Linked DNA regions of Homo sapiens: regions 1 and 3 are each linked to region 2. Evidence: promoter capture Hi-C in human tissues and cell types (Jung and others, 2019). All regions are on one chromosome and are shown on one strand. The core of a region is centred on a gene start or on the middle of the fragment in contact, and the rest is flanking DNA. Distances in the headings are between cores, read along the strand shown. Region 1 holds the start of CEMP1 (cementum protein 1). Region 2 holds the start of PTX4 (pentraxin 4). Region 3 holds the start of FLYWCH1 (FLYWCH-type zinc finger 1).

Region 1 (3,515 bases), core at 874-3,373, 1.0 Mb before region 2:
CACGCACATCACGTGAGGTCAGGAGTTCGAGACTAGCCTGGCTAACATGGTAAAACCCTGTCTCTACTAAAAAAAAAAAAAAAAAAAAAAAAAAAAAAAATCTGGGCGTGTTGGTGCATGCCTGTAATCCCAGCTACTGGGAAGGCTGAGGCAGGAGAATCACTTGAACCCAGGAGGCTGAGGTTGCAGTGAGCCAGGATCGCGCCGGGCTGGGCAACAGAATGAGACTCCGTGTTAAAAAAAAAAAAAAAAAAAGGCTGGGCACAGTGGCTCACGCCTGTAATCCCAGCACTTTCAGAGGCCTAGGCGGGCGAATCAATTGAGGTCAGGAATTCAAGACCAGCCTGGCCAACATAGTGAAACCCTGTCTCTACCAAAAATACAAAAAAATTAGTCAGGTGTGGTGGCGTGCGCCTGTAATCCCAGCTACTAAGGGGGCTGAGGCGGAGAATCGCTTGAACCCGGGAGGCGGAAGCTGCAGTGAGCAGAGATCGCACCACTGCACTCCAGCCTGCGCAACACAGCCAGGCTCCGTCACACACACACAAACCGAACTGCAAAGTAATAGCAAAAGTGTAAACCCATTTAGAAAAAACGTGTGTGACATAAATGTGATAAAAGGAACAGGGCCAGTCTGGGAGGGAGTACCCGGACGCTCCGGAGCTGTCCCAGACTCCAGGGGCGGAAAAGCCGGGCTGAAGAGGTGCCCTTCCTCCACGCTTCTGGTGCCAATCTCCCCTGCTGCGCCCACCCTGGGTCCCTAGCCTGGGCTCCAAACCAACTCCGAGCTAGGGAAGCTCCGAGCCAGGGTGCTTCTAGAGTGTCCGGCCCACCCCTCCGCTTCATTTCCCAAGACAGTGAGGGCGGGGCTAGAGGCCAGGTGCGGAGGTGCGGGACAGGAGCCAAGCTGGGTCGTAGTGGGATCCACCTGTGCGTGATACGTAACAGAAGGGAGAGGCGAGGCGCGGGGAGGTCCGCAGGGATGTGGGAGACGCGACGGGGAGGACTGGGACGAAACAAACTAGGTCCGCAAGGGTATAAGGGGAGCAGCTCGGAGGGTTGGGGCGAGGCGGGGTCTACAGGGGTGTGGGGGGCTTGGCAGGGAGCGCTGGGGCGACGCGGAGCTCCGCAGCGTTGGCGGGGAGCGTTGTGGGGAGACGGGGTCTGCAGGAATGTGAGGGCGCGGTGGGGAGCGTAGCGGGGTATGCAAGGTTGTGAGGGTTGTGGATGGGAGGGCTGGGGCGAGGCGGGGTCCGCAGAGATGTGGGGGGCGCAGAGATGGGGGGGGTCCGCGGGCCCGCCGGGGACCGCGCAGCCTCGGGCTCTGTGCCCGGGGCCGCGCGGGTTAACTAGAGAAGGTGACGCGCGCCCCTGTTGCTCAGCCGCGGCGCGTGCCTTCCCTGCGGCGATCCTAATTGGCCCGACAGAAGCCCGCCCCCAGAAGCCCCTCCCACAGTAGGCAAGGCCCCGCGTGCCGCAACGCTCCCAGAGTTGCGCGTCAGCCTGGACTCAGCGCCTGCGCTACGAGGCTGGGCGGGGCGCGGCCGGATCGGTCGAGAGCGTCCTGGCTGATGACGGTCTCCCGTGCCCACGCCCCAAACGCAGTCTCTGGCCTGGATGTGCTCGGAGCCCACGAGGTGCAGAGGCTCGGACGGCGAAAGGGACCTGGCTGAGATCTGGGTCTTAAACCGCGGGCTCGGCCCAGCATCCCGGCAGCGTGCGCCCACAAGTGACACCCGGCCGGGCGCGGTCTGCGGGATCGCAGGCGCCGGGTCTCATCTCCAGTTCACACACGGGACGAAACGGGCCACCCCTACCAGCTCTGAGAGCATGCACCTCCAACTCCATCCCTCCCCACATGCCCGACCCCCCAACCCGTAACTCAGGCAGACACCTGGGCGTCCCCCTTCAGCGAATGCCCACACCGCGGGCAGGCCTGCCCCTCACCCCGCAGTCAGGGCGCCCTGCATCCTTCTTTGTAAAACCCATAGCTGTAGAGGGAGCGGAATGGTGGGGCAGGGCTGGGAGCCCAGCGGGAGTGAGTGGTGGGGAATGATGGTGGCCAAGGTCACACAAAGCAGTGAATTCACTTCATGTCACAGAACTGCTCAGGTTACGATAGTTACTTTTGTTATGTATTTTACCACAATTTTTAAAAAGCAAACCAAAACCAACCAAGAGTGCTTCCCCCACACCTCAAAATCATCCTGCAGCAGCTCCCTGGCCCAGCTCTCTCTCACCCTGACCCTGGGCCCCTCTCCCACCACCCAGGGCTAGCCCTGTGGACCAACCATCTCTGCCAGCCCCTCCCCGACCCTCCAGCCAGGGAGGTGGGGCGCTGGCCGGTGAATGGGGCAGGCCAGGCCCAAAGGCTGGCCCAGGGCTCACCAGCTCTGGACTGGGCGTCCCGTCTGAGGTGGGGATGACCAACATGCCAGCTCTGGGTTTTAGCTGAGGATGGGCACATCAAGCACTGACAGCCAGCAAGCTGGGCACAGGCGATGCTCAACCTCTAACACATCGGCTGAGAACCTCACCTGCCTCTCCCTGCCTGGGAGCCCTGGCAAGACAGCTCCTCTCCCAGGCCCAGCACAGGCAGGCGCTGGACAGCCACTTCCTAAGGGGTGCGCGGCCGTCAAGGCAGAGGTGGGTATCCCTGCACCTCACACCTCTCAGGAGGTCAGGATCCACATCCGTCGCCTGCTTTCCTGGGCTGCCCCTGGGGCTTGTGGGCTGAGATCAACCCCTTGTGCCCTGCCCCAGGCCCTCCCTCAGGCGAGGCCCTGCCCAGGCAGGTGGTTCTTCCCTGGCTGTTCCCTTCCAACAGGTGGGGCCCAGACCATCCTATCTCTTTGGACCTGGAGACATTTCCTTAACTGGGCTTTGCAGCAGAGGGAAGAGAACAGTGGCAGAGCCAGGCGCGTACCTCCTGTGCCCAGGACAGCACCTGTAAGCAAGGGGGAAGGGAGCCACCCACCCCAGAACTCAAATGGAGAGAAAGTCAAGACAATCACCCCTGACGTGGGGCTGCACCAATCCCTGACGTCTGACCCCACTGTGGCTGTCCTCAGAGCCAAGAGGGCTCCAGAAGCCCACCCGCCTCGAAGCTGTTCAGGGAGCCTCACGGCCCGTGTTTGCCACATGGGTGTGTGCCAGGGCCAAGGGGACACAGAAGATGGCAGGATGACACTAATGGGGTGAGCAGGGCACACTGGTGCCTCCCATACTGCCCTCCAGCACCAGGCAGGGTCACCACAGCCGGCAAGCACTGGGCCTGGGGATGTGTGAAGAGATAGGGTTATTGAGAAGAGAAAACAGAACGCTGGTCATCCGTGGCACTCAGGGCTAGGCAGTCCAGGGAGCAGAAAACAGGGGTCCCGGGCCCAGTCTCCCTCCTGGAGGTCAGAGCGGAGCCCCTGGCACTGTGCCCTGGCCCAGAACCAGGCTGTGGGCTCCACGCTGCACACCCCAACTCAGGAGCAGAAAGCAAACCCCTGACTGTCCACACTCCCTGT
Region 2 (3,156 bases), core at 290-2,789:
GGATGCCCCCAGTGGGACAACTTTGTGGATGATCTTATTCCCATGAGCTGGGCGGCTTGAAACAACAGAAATGAGTCCTATCACAGTTCTGGGGGCTGGAAGTCTTGAAGTGAAGGTGCACACTCCCTCGAAGGCTCTGGGCTGGGGGTTCCCACTTTACCTCTTCCAGCTTCTGGGGCCTCTGGGGGTTCCTCGTGGCAGCGTCACCCCAGTCTCTGCCCCATCTTCACAGGCCGTGTCCTCTGTGCCTCCTCCTCTGTCTCTTGTACCCCTGTCATTGGCTTTAGGGCCACCTGGATAATCCAGGATGGTCTCATCTCAAAATCCTTCATGACATCCGCAGAGACCTTTTCCACATAAGGCCCTGCCTGGGGCTTATGTGTGTTTTTAGGAGGGTCTCATTCAAGCCAGTACACAACCTGTAACCAAAAATACCAGCCTGGCCCACATGGGGCAACCCCGTCTCTACTACAAATACAAAAATTGGCCGGGCGCGGTGGCTCATGCCTGTAATCCCAGCATTTCGGGAGGCTACAGCGGGTGGATCACCTGAGGTCGGGAGTTTGAGACCAGCCTGGCCCACATGGTGAAACCCCGTCTCTACTAAAAATACAAAAATTAGCCGGATGTGGGGGCACATACCTGTAATCCCAGCTACTTGGGAGGCTGAGACAGGAGAATCCGTTAAACCCAGGAGGCGGAGCTTGTGGTGAGCGGAGATCGCACCACTGCACTCCAGCCTGGGTGACAGAGCAAGACTCCGTCAAAAAAATTAATTAATTGGCCAGGCGCAGTGGCTCATGCCTGTAATCCGAACACTTAGGGAGGCTGAGGCAGGCAAATCATGAGGTCAGAAGTTTGAGACCAGCCTGACCAACATAGTGAAACCCCATCTCTACTAAAAATACTAAAATTAGCCGGGCATGGTAAAGCACGCCTGTAATCCCAGCTCCTCAGGAGGCAGGAGGCTGAGGAAGGAGAATCGCTTGAGCCGGGGAGGCAGAGGTTGCAGTGAGCTGAGATTGCGCCATTGCACTCTAGCCTAGGCAACAGAACGAGACTCCATCTCAAATAATAATAATAATTAATTAATTAAGGTGGCTCCCAGTCACATTTCCATTGCTTTACTGAGAGAGACGGGGCCTCCCAGGATGCAGCCGTGCACGGCCTGGGTGATGGGTGCCTGTGCAGACCTGGCTCTGTTGACTCCCCAGCCCCCGTCGGGTTCCCTGTCTTGCTTCGACTTCTCGGGAGCACAAGTCCATGTGCTCCTGTTAAAGCCATCGCCTCCTGCCCGCGGGCTTGCACCCAGCTGAATGATTCTTCAAAGAAACTGTTTGCATCTGTTTTAAGCTTGTCTCCTTAGGAACCTGCAAGTCTCAGAGCCCACTGGCTTGAAGGCAGATGCCTTTCATGGAGGCGGCAGGAAGAACCTGACATCCAGCCAGGGCCAAAGAAGGAAAACCACTCAACAGGAGAGCTGGGGGGACGAGACACAAGACAGACCCACGGAGCCACCTTCACCCTCTCCTGCGGCTGGAGGGAGACTGCTGGGGCCTTGCCGTCTCTCCGGATGGGTTGCTCGTGGAGGAAGACCTTGTCTTTCTTCCTTGTTTTTGTGCCTATATATCTACATGGGGCTTCATCGCAGGAAGCCGCCCCAGTGGGGCCCAGGAAACCGTTTTTCGAGAGGCTCCGTAGGCTGGAGGAACAGGCAAGTTATACCCCTGACATGGCGCAGTCGGGTTTTTAAATTGGCAGCAGATGGAAGACGGATGTTACAGAAGCAGATTGGTAAACATCAGGGCTTGGCGGACACGAACACCGCGTGTGACGCTCTTTCCATCCATGAAGATTATTTCACCTGCAGTTGGACACCAGGGAAGAGCTGAGCTGGGCTCCACTCACACAGGACACAAGCCTCATAACATGTGGGGGTCAGGTGGGGCCAGAGGCTAGAAGGGGGTCTGGAAGGGAGTCAGGGGAACTGGGGGCCATGGGGGCCGGGTAGTGTCATGGGGAGTGGAAACTGGGAGGTCACAGGTCCACCTTGTGGCAGTCGGTGTGAACGGCCTCCCGGACTCCCACGCGGGGTCCACGGACAGTTCCGGAGTGCTGTGGGCCTGTCGGGCCTGCGCTGGGTGCTTCCTGTTTGGGCCTCGTAAAGCACTCATGAGGCCACCCTGCCGTCCCCTGCTCACAGGCAGGAGCTGGAATCACGAGGGAAAGTGACTTGCCGGTGGTTATGGGGTGAGCGGTGGGGATCAGAGCCCCAGCTGTGGGCCTGGAGTCCACACCCCACGTGGTGCAGCTGCATGGCCTGGGGTCAGTCCCTGGCACCCACCACATCTCACGGCATCGCAGTGGGGATCAAATCGGTGGGCAGATAGCCAGTGCTGGCCGTGGCCCGGGCACGCGGCCGCTGCTCCCAACTTGAGAGGGCAAAGCCTTTCCCGTCCCGCCCAGCCGGCCCGGCCCGGCCCGCCCCATCATCACCGTGTCCTCCTTACAGTTCCGGAGATTCCAGGAGGTGACCTGGACACACCTGCAGAACATCGCCAGCAACTACAACGTGTCCTACAACGTTGACGTCCGGTTCCGGAGCCTGGCGGAAGAGAGCCAGGCTGTGGCTCAGGCAGTCAACCGGTCACAGGCCTCGGTGCAGGGGGAGCTGGCGCAGCTCAAGGCCTGGGTGAGGAAGCTGCAGCGCCGAGGCCGGAAAGTAGACACGCGGCTGCGGGCCTTGGACCTCACCCTGGGCGAGAGGAGCCAGCAGCGGGCCCGGGAAAGGAAGGCACACAAGGCCCAGAGGGACGCCCTGCAGGACTCACTGGCACGCCTGGAGGGCCTCGTCCACAGCCAGGGCGCCAGGCTGGCTGCTCTGGAGGGGCGGCTGCCCGTGGCCCACCCTGGCACTGCAGCCCTCGGGCCGGCCCTGGTCCCAACCCCAACCCAGCCTGAGGAGCTGGGCCCGACCTCCCTGAAGCTTCAGAGGGACAGGCAGGAGCTCCGAGCTGCCTCTGAGCACAGGGGCCCCCCACAGGACTCCTCGGCCCCTCTCCAAGGGAGGCGGGAGCCTCCAGCCTCAGGCAGCCATCGGGTACTCAGTGGGACTGCCCCAAAAGACCCTCGGCAGCAGGCATGGTCCCCCCAGGT
Region 3 (3,398 bases), core at 470-2,969, 1.4 Mb before region 2:
CAGCACCGTTGGCATTTTGGGCCGGATGATTCTGCTGTGGGAGGCTGTCCTGTTCAGCGTGGGGTGTTCAGCAGCAACCCCGGTCTCTACCTGCCAGATCCCACTGTCATGCCCTACCACACGTTGTGACCACCAACACTGCAGAACGTTCCCTGGGGTGCAGAATTGCCCAAGAGCCACAGCTCCAAAGCAACTTAGAAATTAGAGCGCACAGAAAGGGAGAGCTTGGCCAATGAGACCCCCCCAGCCCGGTATTCCCCAGTCACCCTCCATCATAATATAAGTTTATTTACTCCTTCCCACAGCCTAATGCATCCTCAAATCTCTCTCCCTCTATGCCTGATATACCCATCTTCCCTCTCCTTCCCACTCCCACCAACTCAGGACATGATCCCTTACCACGACCTCTTTAGCCCAAGCCAAAGCCTCTGAACGATCTTGCCAGCTTTGGCAAGCAGCCACTCCAATTCTCCACATAGGGTGCTGACAGGTCACTCTTCCTAAAGCTTAACTTTCAGCATGTCTCTCCCCAATTAAATCATCTCCATCTCCAGCCTTAGTGCATCATCAGCTGGGCGTCATAAACACTCCGCAATCTAGCCCCAACCTCAGCCTTGTTCCTTCCACACGTCCCGCCAGTAGCACTTGGGAAAGGAACAAGAGAAACATGATATAATCACACGAGAAAATCTAGATCAAGCCCTGGAAATCATATTGGCCCTTGGAAAGCAGAAATATGCAAATAAAAATAAGCCATTTCGTTGGAATTGGAGTTTGCACATGATTATCTGACTATGGGAGTTCAGCTTCCAGTACAAGGAATAAAGGAACAACAGGCAGGGTTTAGAGCGAGGGTTTCAACTACGTCAGACCCGTTATGTGCAGGCTCCATGGGTTAGCAGCAGCCTTTTGGAACGGGGTGGAAGAGAATGGAACGGAATTTAATCCGAACAGATCCAGCTGCGTCATGTGAGCTTAAACAAGCGTCTCCCTTTAAACTTGTGCTTCAGTCATCCAGACCCACAGGCACAGAGTACACGCGTAAAAGGCATTTCTCAGTGTCGGCTGTGGGTCAACAAAGTTCGAAAGCCGTCACCGGAGATCTATAGGGTCAGAAGCGGGAGCGGGGTGCGTCCCGACCCGCAAAAGTGCAAGGTCACTGGGACCGCCCGAGCTGCAACCGTGGGACGGGGCTGATGCTGCGGGTCCAGGAAGGCAGCGCTGGGCGGGGCAGACACCGCCAGGAAACGGCGGACGAGTGCGGGGATCCTTGATGTGGGGGTGTCGGGCTTAGGCCAGGGGACGGGGGGGTGGGGATGGAGGGGCGAGGAGCAAGGAGGGAATCGCGGGAGACCCCACAGGAGGCGGCCTGAGCGCCGGGACGCAGACCCCTCCCCAGCACCCGCAACCCTCGGGACCCCCGGGAGAGCCGGGCTGCGGGCGCGTCCACGCCGGGGACGCGGGACATTCCCCGCCCGCAGGGGCCTGTCCTCACCGACGGCAGCGGGGCCCTCCCTCTCCCGCGACAGCGCCGCGGCGGATCCTTCAGCCTCTGCCGCTGCAGCAGCGAGCGTCGACCCCGCGACCCAGGCCGCCGCCGCCACCCCGACCCGGGCACCAGCTCCCAGCCCCGACCTGCCCCTCGGGAGCGAGCCCCGTGACCGCGCGCGCGACCCCGCCGGGGAGCCGGCCTTGCGGAACGCTCAGGCGCGCTACTTCAGAGCATGCGCAGCAAGACCGCGCGGCCCGTTCCTTAGGTAAACCGCTGCTCCGGGTCTTCCCTGCGCGGCGCCGAGCCGCAGGCCTGGCCTGTCAGCGCATGGGGGCGGGGACGTAACTCACGGAAAAGGCGGGGCCATCCCGAGATTGGACGGCGGCGTCCAGGGGCGGAGCTAGGATGGGGGAGCTGAACAGGACGCTCTTGGCGTAAAGGGGCTGGGGTAGGGGGCGCTTAATTGAGACCCCAGGACGGTCCCCAGTATCTGAGGCTGCCCGCAGGAAACGGAGCGTTTGCTGAGATGCACTCTTGGGCCTGTCAGTTTCCTGACCCCGTGGGAAGGCGATTCTCATGCATCTCATTGACGCCCCCAGTGACCCTACCCCAGAGCGGAACCAGTGTGAGATTCAAATAAACAGCGATAGCAACGGATTATAACCTTGACTACGATATGAGTCCAAACTGAAGGAAATAAGTCAACGGGGGAGAAGGGACAGTTGTTTCTTACATCAGAAAGCCAACAACGACAAAAAAATACCTGGGCCGGGCGCGGTGGCTCACGCCTGTAATCCCAGCACTTTGGGAGGCCGAGGCGGGTGGATCACCTGAGGTCAGGAGTTCGAGAACAGCGTGGCCAACATGGTGAAACCCCGTTTCTACTAAAAATACGAACATTAGTCGGGCGTGGTACTGGGCGCCTGTAATCCCAGCTACTCGGGAGGCTGAGGCAGGAGAATAACTTGAACCCGGGAGGCGGAGGTTGCAGTGAGCCGAGACGGCGCCACTGCACTCCAGCCTGGGCGACAGAGTGAGACTGTGTCTAAAAAAAAAAAAGCAGAAATATTACATAGTATTACAAAGTCTGCATGACGTGTGATGTAACACATTGAATGTAGAAGCAGGTATGAGAGCCAGTAGTCTTCTTTTAAGCCCGCAACAAAGATATTTGCAAAAATGTATAACTATGTCACTCGTCTCACTAAATTTCTTTGGGAAAATATTGTACTTTTTCATAAAACTATGTTAACACAATCAGCTTACTATTTTTTGGTAAGATCTTTATTGAAATATAATTCACATACCATGCATTTCTCCCATTTAAAGTGTACAATTAAATGATATGTAGTATAGTCAGAGAGTTGTGCAAACAGCACCATAGTCAGTTTTAAAACCTTTCATCACTCCAAGAAGAAACCTTTAGCCACCACCCTCCAATTTGCTAATCACCCCAGCCCTAAGTAATATGATCTATTTTCTGTCTTTATAGATTTGCGTATTCTGCATATTTCATATAAATGAAATCATGCAACAAATATGTGGTCTCTTGTGACTGACTTCTTTCGCCTAGCCTTAGCATAGCACTTTCAAAGTTCATCCATGTTGGCCGGGTACAGTGACTCTTGCTTGTAATCCCAGCACTTTGGGAGGCTGAGACAGGAGCATCGTTTGAGCCCAGGAGTTTGAGATCAGCCTAGGCAACATAGTGAGACTCTTTCTCTACAGAAAAAAAGAAAAGAGGAACAAGAGAAAATTAGCTGGATGTGGTGATGCGCTGTAGTCCCAGCTACTCAGGAGGCTGAGGTGGAAGGATCACTTGAGCTTGGGAGCTGGAGGCTGCAGTGAGCTGCGCTCATGCCACTGCACTCCAGGCTGGGCGACAGAGCAAGACCCTGTTCAAAAA

What was found. The method cuts DNA at HindIII sites, captures the fragments that hold promoters and counts their contacts. A contact is called where the count stands out against the background at its distance.
Region 1: a contact is called between the fragment with the promoter of CEMP1 here and the fragment with the promoter of PTX4 in region 2, in 1 of the 25 tissues and cell types used here (dorsolateral prefrontal cortex).
Region 3: a contact is called between the fragment with the promoter of FLYWCH1 here and the fragment with the promoter of PTX4 in region 2, in 1 of the 25 tissues and cell types used here (spleen).

What each region holds. Positions count from the first base shown.
Region 1 is chr16:2,530,016-2,533,530 of GRCh38, reverse strand. CEMP1 (cementum protein 1) reads left to right here and starts at 2,123. Exons shown (of 1, transcript NM_001048212.3): 1 at 2,123-3,496. The coding sequence starts at 2,458. The coding sequence ends at 3,201. It overlaps AMDHD2 (amidohydrolase domain containing 2), which reads right to left. Exons shown (of 11, transcript NM_001330449.2): 11 at 2,114-3,515. MIR3178 (microRNA 3178) reads left to right here and starts at 1,526; the gene lies at 1,526-1,609. RefSeq lists enhancers at 841-890, 191-892, 1,671-1,720. The HindIII fragment of the contact is 25,225 bases long and covers 1-3,515 here.
Region 2 is chr16:1,487,327-1,490,482 of GRCh38, reverse strand. PTX4 (pentraxin 4) reads left to right here and starts at 1,539. Exons shown (of 3, transcript NM_001328608.2): 1 at 1,539-1,714; 2 at 2,513-3,156. The coding sequence starts at 1,574. The HindIII fragment of the contact is 5,905 bases long and covers 1-2,170 here.
Region 3 is chr16:2,910,252-2,913,649 of GRCh38, reverse strand. It overlaps FLYWCH1 (FLYWCH-type zinc finger 1), which reads right to left and starts at 1,719. Exons shown (of 10, transcript NM_001308068.2): 1 at 1,496-1,719. RefSeq lists silencers at 1,086-1,275, 1,249-1,348, 1,379-1,528, 1,549-1,858, 1,909-1,968. The HindIII fragment of the contact is 21,473 bases long and covers 68-3,398 here.